Regions from separate parts of the Homo sapiens genome. Here regions 1 and 2 are each linked to region 3. The links are contacts of gene promoters, found by promoter capture Hi-C in human tissues and cell types (Jung and others, 2019). All regions are on one chromosome and are shown on one strand. The core of a region is centred on a gene start or on the middle of the fragment in contact, and the rest is flanking DNA. Distances in the headings are between cores, read along the strand shown. Region 1 overlaps ULK4 (unc-51 like kinase 4). Region 2 has its middle 36 kb from the start of TRAK1. Region 3 holds the start of ZNF621 (zinc finger protein 621).

Region 1 (4,469 bases), core at 1,569-4,068, 1.2 Mb after region 3:
ATTAAACTCTTACAAACTTCAGTTTTCTAATTACAAAATGGGATAATGCCCGCCTTATAGGACTGCTGTGAGGATGTAAATGAATGCGGTAAATTCTCAGGAAACGGTAGCTGCTATCATCACCACCACCAAACTTGGGATACTGCTTTCTTGAGTACACAAATCTTAAGAGAAAATCCCTAGAGAAGGCTAACACTCTGTTTTTCATCCCACTCTCTGAATCATGAATCACCATGCTCAAAAGTCCTGCCCCACTTCCCCTGCATTTTGAAGAACTGCCTCAACTTATTAAAATGAAAGACAGACCGGGCGCAGTGGCTCACACCTGTAATCCCAGCACTTTGGGAGGCCATGGCGGGTGGATCACCTGAGGTCAGGAGTTCGAGACCAGCCTGACCAACATGGAGAAACCCCGTCTCCACCAAAAAAATACAAAAATTAGCCAGGCGTGGTGGCACATGCCTGTAATCCCAGCTACCCGGGAGGCTGAGGCAGGAGAATCTCTTGAACCTGGGAGGCAGAGGTTGCAATAAGCCGAGATGGCACCACTGCACTCCAGCCTGGGCAATAAGAGTGAAACTCCATCTCAAAAAATTAATTAATTAAAATTAAATTAAAATAAAATGAAAGAGAGCCTGACATCTCTTCAGAGATTAGAATTTGATGCCATTAAAATTGTTCTACTCCTTTTGATATAGGAAGAATAGAAACATTTTCTTTAAGGAAATAGTTTTGTCTTCATTAAACATGCAGAATATATAACCGTTTATTTAACCCATCATCCTACTAAAAGACATGAGGGGTGCTTTCAGCTTTTCTTCTCAAAAAGCAATGCTTGAGAGACACTGTTGCATCTGTCTCCTGGTACACATGTGCAAGAGTTGCTAGGGTACATGTATAGGAATGGAAACTCAAATATTCAACTTCACGACACTGCCAAACTGGTTCCCAAAGTGGTTGTCCCAATTTATTCCCACCAGTAGTGTATGCGTTCCCTCTGAGTTACAACCTCACCAATACCTACTGGTATCAGATTTAATTTCTACCCATCTATTTATGGGGTTTAAAGTGGTACCTTTAGTCTTAATTTGAATTTTCATAATTATTAATGACAGAATATTTTGGTATTTATTTGCTGTTCATAATTCCTCTTTTCTCAGGAAAATGAAGGGAAAAGAGGAATTATGAACAGTAAGTGCCTGAAAATGTCTGTTTCTGAAATGCCTGTTCAGGTCTTTTGCTCATTCTCCCATTGGGTTGTTGATCTTTTGTTATTGATTTGGAGGCATTAATTATATGGTCTGGATCTTTTATCTTCTTCCTCTTTGTCCCCTTCTTTATCCTCTTTCTTCCTTCTTGTTTCTCCTCCTCCTCTTGTCTTTCACATTGAAGTCCTCAATCCACTAGAAATTGACTGATCATGTGGGTTGAGGTGGGAATCTAATTTCATTGTTTTTCCAAGTGGACGAGCACTTGTCTGGTACTATTTATTGAAAAGGTACTTCTAAAACCAACAGTGAGGAAAGAGGGGTAAAAGATCAAATATTTGGCAAAATCTGATTAAAAAGCAGTTTGAACCTTACATTACCTCCTCTGGCCAATATATGTAGGTAACTGCCACTAGGCTTGCACTCAGGCAAAAGTTTAAACATTTATTCTCTAGAGAAAATAAAAACCATCTGGACTGAGAAATAGCAGACCAAGATTAAGAGAGGACTACCAAACTGCAAACAGGGGACTAAGTAAATTTATGCACAGTAAATACTGAAACTTCATCTCCCTTAGCCCAGTGGGCGCCTGGGACTCTGGTAGCCCAGTCGTTTCCTTCCGAGCATGTGACTGGAACACTCTGCATGTGCTCTTCTTTGGCAAAACTAAATAGCCCAAGAGAAATAGCCAGAGACATTCATGCTAAAGTTCACATTAAAAATGCCTGTACAGATGATCTTAATGTAAAGCTCAAAGTCAAAATTCACCAACACACTGAGAACTTCTAAAATAGGCTGTCATTCCCTCAACTCTTAATCATAAGGAGATCAAACATTACCAAATAGCTGAAAGCCTGACTTATCTGTTCTACATTTATGTCTGCTGGTATTCATCCACATTCTTTTTCATTGCTGTGTAGTGTTCCGGTATGTGAATATACCATAATTTACTTACTCGTTTTGTTGTGGATGAACATTTGGGCTATTTCAATTAATGAATAGGGCTAAGCATAACTTATGCTGGATGCACATAAACATTTCTATTGGATATATCTGTATCCTTGGAAGTAAATTTGCTGGGTCACAAAGCATGCCTCGATTCAGTTTCATAGACACTGATGATCAGTTTTCTAAAGTGATCATTATGTCAATTTATACTCCAACAGGTAGATATAAGAATTCCAGTTTTTCAGCCAGGCGCGGTGGCTCACATCTGTAATCCCAGCACTTTGGGAGGCCGAGGCGGGTGGATCATGAGGTCAGGAGATCGAGACCATCCTGGCTAACACAGTGAAACCCGTCTCTACTAAAAATACAAAAAATTAGCCGGGCGTGGTGGCAGGCGCCTGTAGTCCCAGCTACTCGGGAGGCTGAGGCAGGAGAATGGCGTGAACCCGGGAGGCAGAGCTTGCAGTGAGCCAAGATTGCACCACTGCACGCCAGCCTGGGCGACAGAGTGAGACTCTGTCTCAAAACAAAACAAAAAAAAAATTCCAGTTTTTCTATATCTTTGCCAAAACCCTACATTATCAGGCTTTTTAATCACAGCCATTCTAGTGGGTATATGTTGGTAACTCATTGTGATTAAACTAAATTTTCCTGATGACTAATTAGGTTAAGCATCTTTTCAGGTGTTAATTGACCATCTGGAGATAACCAGTTTTGTAAACTGTTTGTCCAAGTCTTGTGCTCATTTTTCTATTGGGTTATCTGTCCTCTTTTCCTTGATGAAGTAAGTCTGTACATATTTCTGTTAAGAGACCACTGTTGATTATATATGTTGATTATGAATGTCTCTTACTCTGTGGCTTACCTTTTTACTCTTTTAATGTCTTTGAATGAACCATAATTTTAAGGTAGCCTAATTTATCAATATTTTCCTTTCTGACAATGCTTTTGTGTTCTGTTAAAAAAAATTTCAGTCTACACAAAAGTCATGAAGATATTTTCATATGCTATCTACCAGAAGCTTTACTGCTTTACCTTTACAAATTTAAACAGAAAATCATAAAATCTACCTGTATTGATCTTTGGTACAGTACAGCTTAGGAGTAAAAGTTTTTATTTCTTTCCTATATTGATATCTAAATTATCTATTATCGTTTATTATAAAACCCACAATTTTCTGTTTTCCTCTATATCTCTCCCACTATTCTTCATGTCTTCTATACTTTTGTCTCTCTACACTGATCTCAGACTTCTCCCAGATAGCATTTCTCTGCTTCAGAGAGTCTAATCTGTTAGCCAAATCCACTGACTTGTTACTTTCAATTATTGTATTTTTCAGTTCTAGAATATCCATTTGGGTTTTTTTAATAGTTCTAGTTCTCCACTGAAACCCTTAATCTTTCAAATTCCTTGACTATATTAATCACAGTTATTTTAAAGTCTGTATCTGATAACTCTATTGTCTGTATTCCCTATGGATACTGTCTCTCTTGTTGATTTTATTGCTTTTATTCATATCATCTTGTCTCCTCATAGGCCTGACTACTTTCTATTGAGTATTAGACTCTATACCTGAAAACTACGGAGATACTCTGAGGCCTAGGGTTACGGTTAAACTTCTTCAGACAGGATTTGCATTTGCTTCTGGAAGGCAGCTAAAACACCAAACAATCTAGATCATCTTAATCCAAACAGAGACTGAGATGATTCAAAAATGAGCTTCTCTCCCTGTTTTGGGAAATCCTCTATATCAGTAACAGCTACCCCAGAAACAGAAAACAGAGAAAATAGAAATGGTTATCTTTTGGCAGTCAAGGAATCCAAATGAAATCCTCTCCAAATTTACAGAGTATAAAAAAAGCAAATTCACACTTGTCTATAAGGAATAAATTTTTCTCTAAAGTTTAAATTATCCATTATAAAATTTGATAATGTGTTGCTTAACTACCATGGTTTGAAATATCTTTCACTTAAGGCAAAAAACTATTCAAATCATTTTCAAACACTAGTACAGACTGTTAATACATAAGAAAATATCCATTACATCTGCTGGGAGAAATAAAAAACTAATGGGATCCATAACAGTTTAAAACTAACTCTAGAATGATGCTCCATTTCTTCATGCTCTCCCCAATGCCTCCCCATTACAAGATGTGTTTTCACAGCTACAGTAGAATAAACTGACTTTACTGACAAGAGAACATTATTTTCTAAAAGAATTCACATCTATAAAGGAGACAAAATGTGGAAACATTTGAGCATAGTGTCCCACAAATACTTCACAAGCGTTCTACGAAAAGCAGCAAATGATAT
Region 2 (4,682 bases), core at 408-2,907, 1.5 Mb after region 3:
CATTCTGTGGTATGGGCTTCTTTCCTCCTGGACCCTGGTGTAGGCTGGAGAAATCAGTATTATGGAAGCCACTGCCTCCTCACCCCGCCCCCAGGATCTAGGCCCAGAGGACCTGGCAAAAGCTGGGTTGGCACCCACACCCAGGACCTGCCCGAGCCAAGTCCACGCTGCCCCTGCCTGACCTGGGCTGGTCAAGTAGAGTAGGCCTGAACTGCCCGGGTGAAGGAGTATCCCAAGTCCATCATACCGCCTTTCCCCTCCCTCACCAAGGGAAAATGAAACCCCACGTGCCGAGGGCTACCTTTGCTTTTTCTGTTACCTTTGATGGATTGACTGCTCATCCCACACAATTGGGACCAAAATCTCTGGCCCTGCAATCAGTCTGCCCTACTCTGATGCTTGCTTAAGCTGTGACAAAAGATACTTGGATGCACAAAGGTCTCTTTTGAGTTTAATTGGAATTTCTCTAAACACTCTGACTCTCCCTGAATCTTCCCTGTTTCCTAAGACCAACATCGTGGAGTCAGTAGATTTAGTGAGCACCTGCTAATTACCACTGGGGTGTTGAGGATTCAGGGTAGACAGCGACCTGTCCTTATAAAGCAAGCTAACATTTGAGTATGTATCTGTGCATACTCAATGAAAAATGAATTTCATTATTTACCTGAATAACGAAATATTCAGGGCTCCTTATGTGCTAAGTACTGTGCTAAGCACTTTGTCAACATAATCAATAAATACTTTTGAAGTGAGTGACCTCCTTCAGCACCCCCTTTGGCTGGAGAGTCAGGCCTGGCTGGTTTCATGGTCCACCCTGCTGTCCTTCCTCATCTGGTGCCCCAGCCTGGTAGGCAGAGGCAAGGAGAGGCAGGTACAGGGTGCACCTTGAGAGCCTTGCAAGCCAGAATCAGGAGCTTGGGTTTTATTTTAGCAATGATAGGAAGCCGTAGGTGAGTTTAAGCAGGAGAATCATAAATAACTCACCCCAGGTCACCTCACCAGCAAATCAGTTATATAGCCAGACCAAGAACCAAGGACTTCACATTTCTACCTAGCCTGGTGCCTGGAAGAAGCATTCATTCCATTGGAAGACTCAGCTGTTTTCTATAAAAACAGCCTTCTCCTCTTTTACCACCATCGTACTTGTTCCCAGCATGGTAGAAATATTTTTGAAGTTATTTTATATATAGTAGAAATTGTATGTATGGTGAAAAGTGGAAATAACTTTTTTATTCCCTGAAGCAAACATAACTAAGTCAGTGAAAGTTGAATCATTTTCCATTTTACAAACTAACCATTGCCATGATTATCTCTGAACTTTTGTTAATAATACAGCTGTGTATGCCCAAAGCTGTAGACTTAAATTTTTTTTTAATTTGTAAATGATCTACAGCAAACTAGATTTTTTTTTTTTTTTTTTTTTTTTTTTTTTTTTTGAGACAGAGTCTCACTCTGTCACCCAGGCTGGAATACAGTGGCGCGATCTGGCTTACTGCAATCTCTGCCTTCCAGGTTCAGGAAATTCTCCTGTCTCAGCCTCCATAGTAGCTGGATTTACAGGCATGTGCCATCATACCCAGCTAATTTTTGTATTTTTAGTAGAGACAGGGTTTCGCCATGTTGGCCAGGCTGGCCTCAAACTCCTGACCTCAAGTGGTCTGTCCTCCTTGGCCTCCCAAAGTGCTGGGATTACAAGAGTGAGCCACTGCACCCAGCCTGAATTTTAACACATGTATAGAGTCATGTAACCACCCCAAGGATACAAAATAGTTCTGACACCCCAAAGAAACTGCCCGTAAAACTCTCTCTCTTTATAAAACTCTCTCCCATAGACTTTTTAAAAAGCTTTGTTAAAATAACAGCTTTATTGAGATATGATTAACATACCATTCAGTTGTCACATCTAAAGTATGGAATTCAATGGTTTTCAGTGTTTACAGAGTTGTGCAACATCACCACAGCAAATCTTATTTGTTGAGACAGGTTCTCTTGCTCTGTTGCCCAAGCTGGAATGCAATGGTGTGATCATGGCTTACTGCAGCCTCGACCTCCTGGGCCCAGGCAATCCTCCCATATCAGCTTCCTGAGTAGCTGAGATCACAGGCGTGTGCCACCATGCTCTGCTAATTTTTTAATTTTTTTGTAAAGATGGAGTCTCCTTATGTTGCCAAGGCTGGTCTTGAACTCCTGGCTTCAAGCGATCCTCCTTCCTCGCCTGCCAAAGTGCTGAGATTATAGATGTGAGCCACTGTGCCCGGCCATCCACAATAAATTTTAGAACACTTTCTTCACCCGCAAAAGAAACCCTGTATCCATTAGCAGTTACTCCCCATTTCCCCCAATCCTCTAGCCCCAGGCAACTACTAATCTACTTTATGTTTGTATAGACTTTCCTCTTTTGGACATTTGTTATACATGGAATCATACAATATGTAGTCCTTTGTGACTGGCTTTTTTCACTTAGCATAACGTTTTCAGAGTTCACCCATGTTGTAGTAGGTATCAGTACTTCATTCCTTATTATTGCTGTATAATATTCCATTGTTATGTATTTTTAATATTTAGTTTATCCTTTCATTAGTTGGTAAACTTTTGGATTATTTCCACTTTTTGGCTATTGTGAATAATGTTGCTGTGAACATCTGTAGACTTTTTTTTATTGTGGACATTTGTTTTCATTTCTTTATGTTGATACCTATGAGAGGAATTGCTAGATCATGTGGTAACTCTGTATTTAACATTTTGATAAATTGCCAGACTGTTTTCCAAAGTGGCTGCGCTATTTTACATTCCCACCAGCAGTGAGTGAGGGTTCTGGTTTGTCCATGTCCTTGCCAATGCTTGTTATTATCTGTCTTTTTGATTATAGAAATCCTTGTGGGTATGAAGTGGTATCTCATTATGGTTTTGATTTGCATTTTCCTGATGGTTAATGATGTTGAGCATTTTTTCATGTGCTTGTTGACTTTTGAAATTATTATTGAAATAATTATTGGATAACAGATGTTAAAAACATTTCAACAGAAGCAGAAATATTTTATATAATTGATTTTAAAATTATATTGAGCAAAGTTATTAGCTGATTATTAAAGAGATTATTTTACCCTGGAGAATTATTAGAAATTTTGAAATTAAAAACATTCTTTTGTTTACCCAGAAATCTAGAAGAAAGGTTAAAATTTCCACTTTTTAATATTGTCCCAAGTGCAACATAAAAGTATGCATTTTTCATATCTTAACCTTTAAATGTATGCCATGTTAGGATACAATATTGAGTGCTTGTATATTTTTGAATTCACAGTCCTTTTTTCTGCCCCGATTGTAATAATAGGCTATTCTACATCCTTCTTAATACCTTTTAGCTCAACATTTCTATTTCCAATATTAGGATTTTAAAAATAAAAATCTTGTGTGAGAGACAAAGTAAAGTACCAAAATTGCCTCAGTTAGAGGAGCCAGTTTTCTGTGGATTTGAACCAACCTGTAACCTGAGCCGTGCACAGCTGCCATGAATAGAACAGGGACCTGGTGAAGGGCACCTTCTGCCACTTTGGCCGATTGAGATCCAGCAACCTCCTGGCTGGCAGTGATCATGAAGATGGGAACTAGGACACTGGTGCATTTTAAGGTGCAGTAATTAAAGGCACTCTAAATTACTCTTTGCTGTTTAGACCACCTGGGCTGTCCAGTGCTACTTTGGATACCAAGGAAAATGGAATATTCTTATGTAAATATGGATGGACCATGAGCTCCTGGAGGGCTGGAATCCAGTTTTGTGCAATTGTTTTCTCCACAAAGACTGACAGTAGGTTCACGGTCCTGCTTCTTGAATGAAGGAAGAAGGGAAGGAATGAAGGGTGAATGATGGGAGTAACAGAAATTGATTGCCAATTCACATCCATCTCTGCCACACTTTCTTCTTTCCTAATAGAATCCAGATTTCATTCCATTCTTAAGCCTCCTTTGCAGCATGCTGGAGTAGGGGTTGAGGAGGCGTCCAGTGGGTATTGATTGGTCCAGGCCAATCACAGTGGCCCCATTCCCTTTGCTGTAGTTGTGACTGGGCCGATTGGGATCAGAACAAGTGGGCTGCAGTTTCCTGGGGAGGTTTTGTTATGTTTGCTGGTGATGCTGTATCTGCTGCTCTCATCTTGTGATCTGAGGAGAACCTGCTGGAAGGCGAGCACTGACCTGCTGTGTGTGGCCAAGCAGAAAGGGAGCAGACGAACTTAGATTCTGGGGTTGGCTCTGTCTCATTTGCATCTTGGGCAGGCCACATGTCTCTCCTCCATCAAGTGTCCTGTAACCTGGAGAACTCACCCTGGTTCACCTGACACGTGGCCCACACCATGTTAATCAGTTTGTGCTTTTATTCTTAAGTATTTGAAGGAACCAGAAAATACAACCAACTGAAAGGCGTTTTCATTTTAAATGCCTGTAAACCTGAACATGTCATTCAGTGAGCTTCCTTGTAAAGCTGAACTCAAATATCATTTCCTCCTTTACTGCTACCCAGGTTTGCCCTTCGCCCCTTGGTTGGGTTATTTTTGCCACCTTTAAGCTCTTCTGGTTTGGCTGCTGCTTCTCTTACTGCTCTGCCACAGTGGGCATTTCATTGGGAAGTGAGACTTGTGGCCGGCTTCTGGGTAAAATACTCCTTGGAACCTCCTCATCTTTAAAAT
Region 3 (4,637 bases), core at 1,356-3,855:
CCCCAGTGATTCTCATTCTGGCATTCACACCCTTGTGTATCCAACACTGAATCATGACTGGCCTGTGATGATAGTATATTGAGGAAATGACAGAGTGTGACTTCCAAAGCTAGGACATAAATGATATTGCCACTTCTGCCTTGACCTCTTGGGTTACTCACCTGAGATGGAAGTGGAAGTCTGCTCCTGTGTTGTGAGGATACTCAGCCATGTACAGATACGCGGTGTGCGAAGGGAGGCTTCTTTTTCTTTTCTTTTCTTTTTTTTTTGAGACAGTCTTGCTCTATATCCTGGGCTGGAGTGCAGTGGCGGGATCTTGGCTCACTGCAACCTCCGCCTCCTGGGTTCAAGTGATTCTCCTACCTCAGCCTCCCAAGTAGCTGGGGTTACAGGTGCCCGCCACCACGCCCAGCTAATTTTTGTATTTTTAGTAGAGACAGGGTTTCGCCATGTTGGCCAGGGTGGCCTCAAACTCCTGACCTCAGGTGATCTGCCTGCCTTGGCCTCCCAAATTGCTGGGATTACAGGTCTGAGCCACTGCACCCGGCGCAGGAAGGGAAGTTTCACACTAATAGCTGGCATCTATGTGCCAACCATGTGAGTGAGTTACCTTTGAGGCAAATCCCCAGCCTCAGTCCAACTTTCAAGTGACTGCAGTCCCAGGTGACACCTGACTAGACCCTCATGAGAGATCCCAAGCCAGTACCATCCAGCCAAGCCACTCCCGAATTCCTCATCCACAGAACCTTTTTTTTTTTTCCTTTTTCTCTTTTTAGGACTGACTGACTATGTTCACTGATTCATAGAAACTTTAAGAGATAATAAGTGTGTTTTGTTTTCAGCCATAAGGTTTTAGGGTGATTTGTTATGCAGCAGTAGATACCTAAGATACTCTCCATAATAGGACTTCATAAGTCAGTCTAATTCTTAAGAAAGGAATAACAAATCCAAGAAGTGGGACCCCTGTAATAAAGCAATATATCTAGATATCCAGGATCATTTTTTATCTTTTAGTGGTGGGAGACCAATTCCCCTTTATAGCATGGAAATGCTTGGTGGTGAGGAGCCTGGTATCTGGAACTGTGTTCAGGAGAAGTTATCAGCGTGATTAAAGTAAAACAAAGTCTGGGCCGGGCGCGGTGGCTCACGCCTGTAATCCCCAGCACTTTGGGAGGCCGAGGTGCACGGATCACAAGGTCAGGAGATCGACACCATCCTGGCTAACACGGTGAAAACCCGTCTCTACTAAAAATACAAAAAATTAGCTGGGCGTGGTGGCGGGGTGCCTGTAGTCCCAGCTACTCGGGAGGCTGAGGAAGGAGAATGGCGTGAACCCAGAAGGCAGAGCTTGCAGTGAGCCGAGATTGCGCCATTGCACTCCAGCCTGGGCGACAGAGCGAGACTCCGTCTCAAAAAAACAAACAAACAAAAAACAAGCAAAAAAAAAAAAAACAAAGTCTGTCCATCTTAGCAACCACTTTGATACTGGAGAAAGGCTCCTGTCCAGAAGGAAGGGCACAGTAGTGAGGTACTTGCCAATGAGCTGGGTAGAGCTGCCACTGGCTGGCTTCGGGAAGTGTTTATCACTGACTGGCTCATGTTCAGAAGCTTGGAGTGAGGCTGTTGTGTACTGGTTGATTTTCAGAGTACGTGTACTGATCTAAAATTATGTAAATTAATGGCAAGTACTTGTTAGTGACTTGGGACTTTGGTCAAAAAACAGTCTTTTCCTTTCCTGAATATGAAAAGTAAGTTCTTTTAATTAGCAGCCTCCCCTCTTCACTGTTTTTTCTTCCTGCAGTCCAACTAACAGAACAGACCATAAAGGTCTGTCCAGATCATTATTTATGGAAGTATGAGATATATATATTTCAGCTGGTGTTAACATTTTATTTAAGTGCCAGTTACTGAGCAGAAAAATAGCTGTAACTACGAGTTTTTGTAATTTATTGGAAAAAGCTAAATATAAGACATTTAGGGTGTCCTCCCAAAGTCAACACAGGACAAGATCATTTAATATAGGACATGTCCTGTGTATACAGGATGCCTAGCAACTGTATGTAGCCACGGGTGTTTTGGTTGTTAAATGAATCTGTCCTAAAAGGTTCTACGCACATCTAGGTCCTTGGAAGGGAGAGGGCTAAAACGGCGAGTGGAAACCATGGTTTCCCTGAGGACTGCCCAGCTGAGGACCCAAGCAAGATCCTGGGCTTGGGCCTCTTAGAGATGACAAAGCAGGCGCCATTCTCCCCTCACCTGCACGGCCCAGGCTTCAGGTGAGCCACGGGGCCAAGGCGGCCAACAGCTGAGGCGCAGCCCGTGAACTGGGGGCCCACTTGTGCCTAGAGGGCGAGGTCTCGGTAGAGCCAGGCTGTATCAGTCCGTGACACTCCAGCCAGAGGCGATGCCGACGGCTGCCGGAGAAAGCCGGGCTTAGAGCGCCACAGTTCCACGCCCGCCGCCGGCCTCTCAGCCCAGCCGGTCGCCGCAACCTCGCCTCTTCCGCAGGGCGGGGCCAGCCATGAAAGGCGGGGCGGGTCTGGCCACGGGGCGACCGAGATGGCGGCCTCCGGGGGCCTAGAGGGACCCTGGGCGTGCACTCGCCCTTCCGGCTCGGCCTTTAGTTAGTGACCAGCTCCTCGGCGTTCTGCAGAGCGTGGGTTTCAGCGAGTTCTACGTGCCAGGTCCGCCCGGTGCCGGCTTCCTCGCTGCCCCTGGCGGCTCGTCAGCCCCCACTACCCCTGAACTTGGTCCCAATGGCGGCCCGCCCCTCCTTCACCCGGACCGTGGGCATCTGGGCCTCGCCGAAGCCGTCAAGGTGGCTGCTCGGGCTTCTAGAGCCCGTGTCCAGCCCTTTGCCACCGAGGCCTGATCCTCTTTTCTGCCCTAAAGAACTTGCCCTGACAGCCTCTGGCTCCCGGTACTGACGTTTCTGATGTTTGGGGTTGCCTGTTTTCTTGGGTGGAGTGTTAAGATCACGGTTGGGTGGGGTCTCCGGTCAGCATCACCCACTGGGACGCTGAGTATTTTACCCTTAATCCGCATTCAGCCACCCCAGTCCCTCTTCTCCTGAGGTTCTTTCTTTTGGGTCCACGTCATCGTCCCTGTAAGCATTCTGTAAAGACTCTTTACGTTTGTAGAGACCCAACACAATAGGGACAGGGCTCTTGGGTCCCTCAGTTTACCCGTACGAATGGGCTCAAAAAAAGCTCTTCGGACTGAGCAGGCAGGTGGAAGATTGTCCTGAAGACTAGGCAGAACAATTCATAAGAAGTTTGGGGCTATCAGCGTGAGAACAATTAGAGGGAGTCCTAGTAGAATCTCCGTGCATCCAGTGCTGGAAATGTGGAAACTGGGAGGGCCATAGGTTGCTGTAGGTGGTGGACGACAGGGTCCTTAGCACTCATGGCTCTTTTTCTCTTAGCTCTTGAGGATCTTGCTTGTCCAAACCCAGAAGACAGTGCATGAAGCCAGGGGACATCCGCCATGCTCCAAACAACTTGGCCTCAGGTGAGCTGAGCTTCTTTCAGTTTTTTTGTTTGTTTGTTTATGTTTTTTTACTCACATTAGCTATCAGATAATCAGGAAAGGATGAGGAAGGCCTAACTTGGCCAAGCTGTGTTTTCCCCTTTGTATCTATCTCCAGGGCTATGGCAGATGTAAATATGTGCTGGGGAAATGAAAGTTTTGTGTATAGAGAGTGATGAGTTTGGATGTATAGATTTAAATGGAAGAAAGGGGACCTATACCAAGAAATTCTTTCTGAATGTGGAAATCCAGATCGTGTTCTAGAAATGAAAGTCACCTACTGAAATCAGACTCATTTTTTGTGAGACGGAGTCTCACTCTGTCGCCCAAGCTGGAGTGTAGTGGCACTATGATATCGGCTCACTGCAGCCTCTGCCTCCTGGGTTCAAGTGATTCCCATACCTCAGCCTCCTAAGTAGCTGGGATTACAGATGTGCGCCGCCACGTGTGGCTAATTTTTGTATTTTTAGTAGAGACGGGGTTTACACCACGTTGGCCAGGCTGGTCTTGAACTCCTGAGCTCAGGTGATCCACCCGCTTCGGCTTCCCAAAGTGCTGGGATTATAGGCATGAGCCACCGCACTAGCTTGAAATCAGAAATTCTTTATTGGAGAGATTGCCCACAAATTGTATTGTATGTATCCCAGAGAGACTAGTATTGTTGCTTTAATATACATTTTCTAAATGCTAGATGCAAGGACTCTGAAGTTGCAGAGAAAGCTGGATGTACTCTAGAAACTGGAAGGGGTCAGAGAAAGTGGTTCAATATGAGATGGAAGAAATAGATACCTGTATTATAGGTCATGGTGAGGACAGTGGTTTCTGTACTGGTTCATTGGGAAGGCACTGAAGAATTTTAAGCAGGGGGATGACATGGTTGGATTTACATATTAAAAAGATTTTCCTAGCCCTTAGTGGCAAATTGATGGTAGAAAGGTGTTGGTCAATTAAGAAGATATTAAGTGTTGTCCTTTTATTTTTTTTGTTTTTGAGACGGAGTTTCGCCTTTGTTGTCCAGGCTTGAGTGCAATGGCGCTATCTCGGCTCACCGCAACCTCCACCTCCCAGGTTCAGGCAATTCTCCTGCCTTAGCCTCCCAAGTAGCTGGG

What was found. Contacts are between HindIII fragments. The study calls those that stand out against the background at their distance.
Region 1: a fragment that was not itself captured here is called in contact with the fragment with the promoter of ZNF621 in region 3 in 1 of the 25 tissues and cell types used here (dorsolateral prefrontal cortex).
Region 2: a fragment that was not itself captured here is called in contact with the fragment with the promoter of ZNF621 in region 3 in 1 of the 25 tissues and cell types used here (dorsolateral prefrontal cortex).

What each region holds. Positions count from the first base shown.
Region 1 is chr3:41,722,044-41,726,512 of GRCh38, forward strand. All of the region lies in intron 22 of ULK4 (unc-51 like kinase 4), which reads right to left. Among named protein-coding and RNA genes, the nearest start is that of ULK4, 240 kb to the right of the region's middle. The HindIII fragment of the contact is 3,183 bases long and covers 1,228-4,410 here.
Region 2 is chr3:42,053,503-42,058,184 of GRCh38, forward strand. It overlaps a transcript of TRAK1 not described here. Among named protein-coding and RNA genes, the nearest start is that of TRAK1, 36 kb to the right of the region's middle. RefSeq lists an enhancer at 4,021-4,130. The HindIII fragment of the contact is 4,689 bases long and covers 1-4,002 here.
Region 3 is chr3:40,522,355-40,526,991 of GRCh38, forward strand. ZNF621 (zinc finger protein 621) reads left to right here and starts at 2,606. Exons shown (of 5, transcript NM_198484.5): 1 at 2,606-2,920; 2 at 3,425-3,510. The coding sequence starts at 3,487. RefSeq lists enhancers at 2,208-2,297, 2,576-3,388, 2,948-3,087 and a silencer at 2,488-2,647. The HindIII fragment of the contact is 18,179 bases long and covers 1-4,637 here.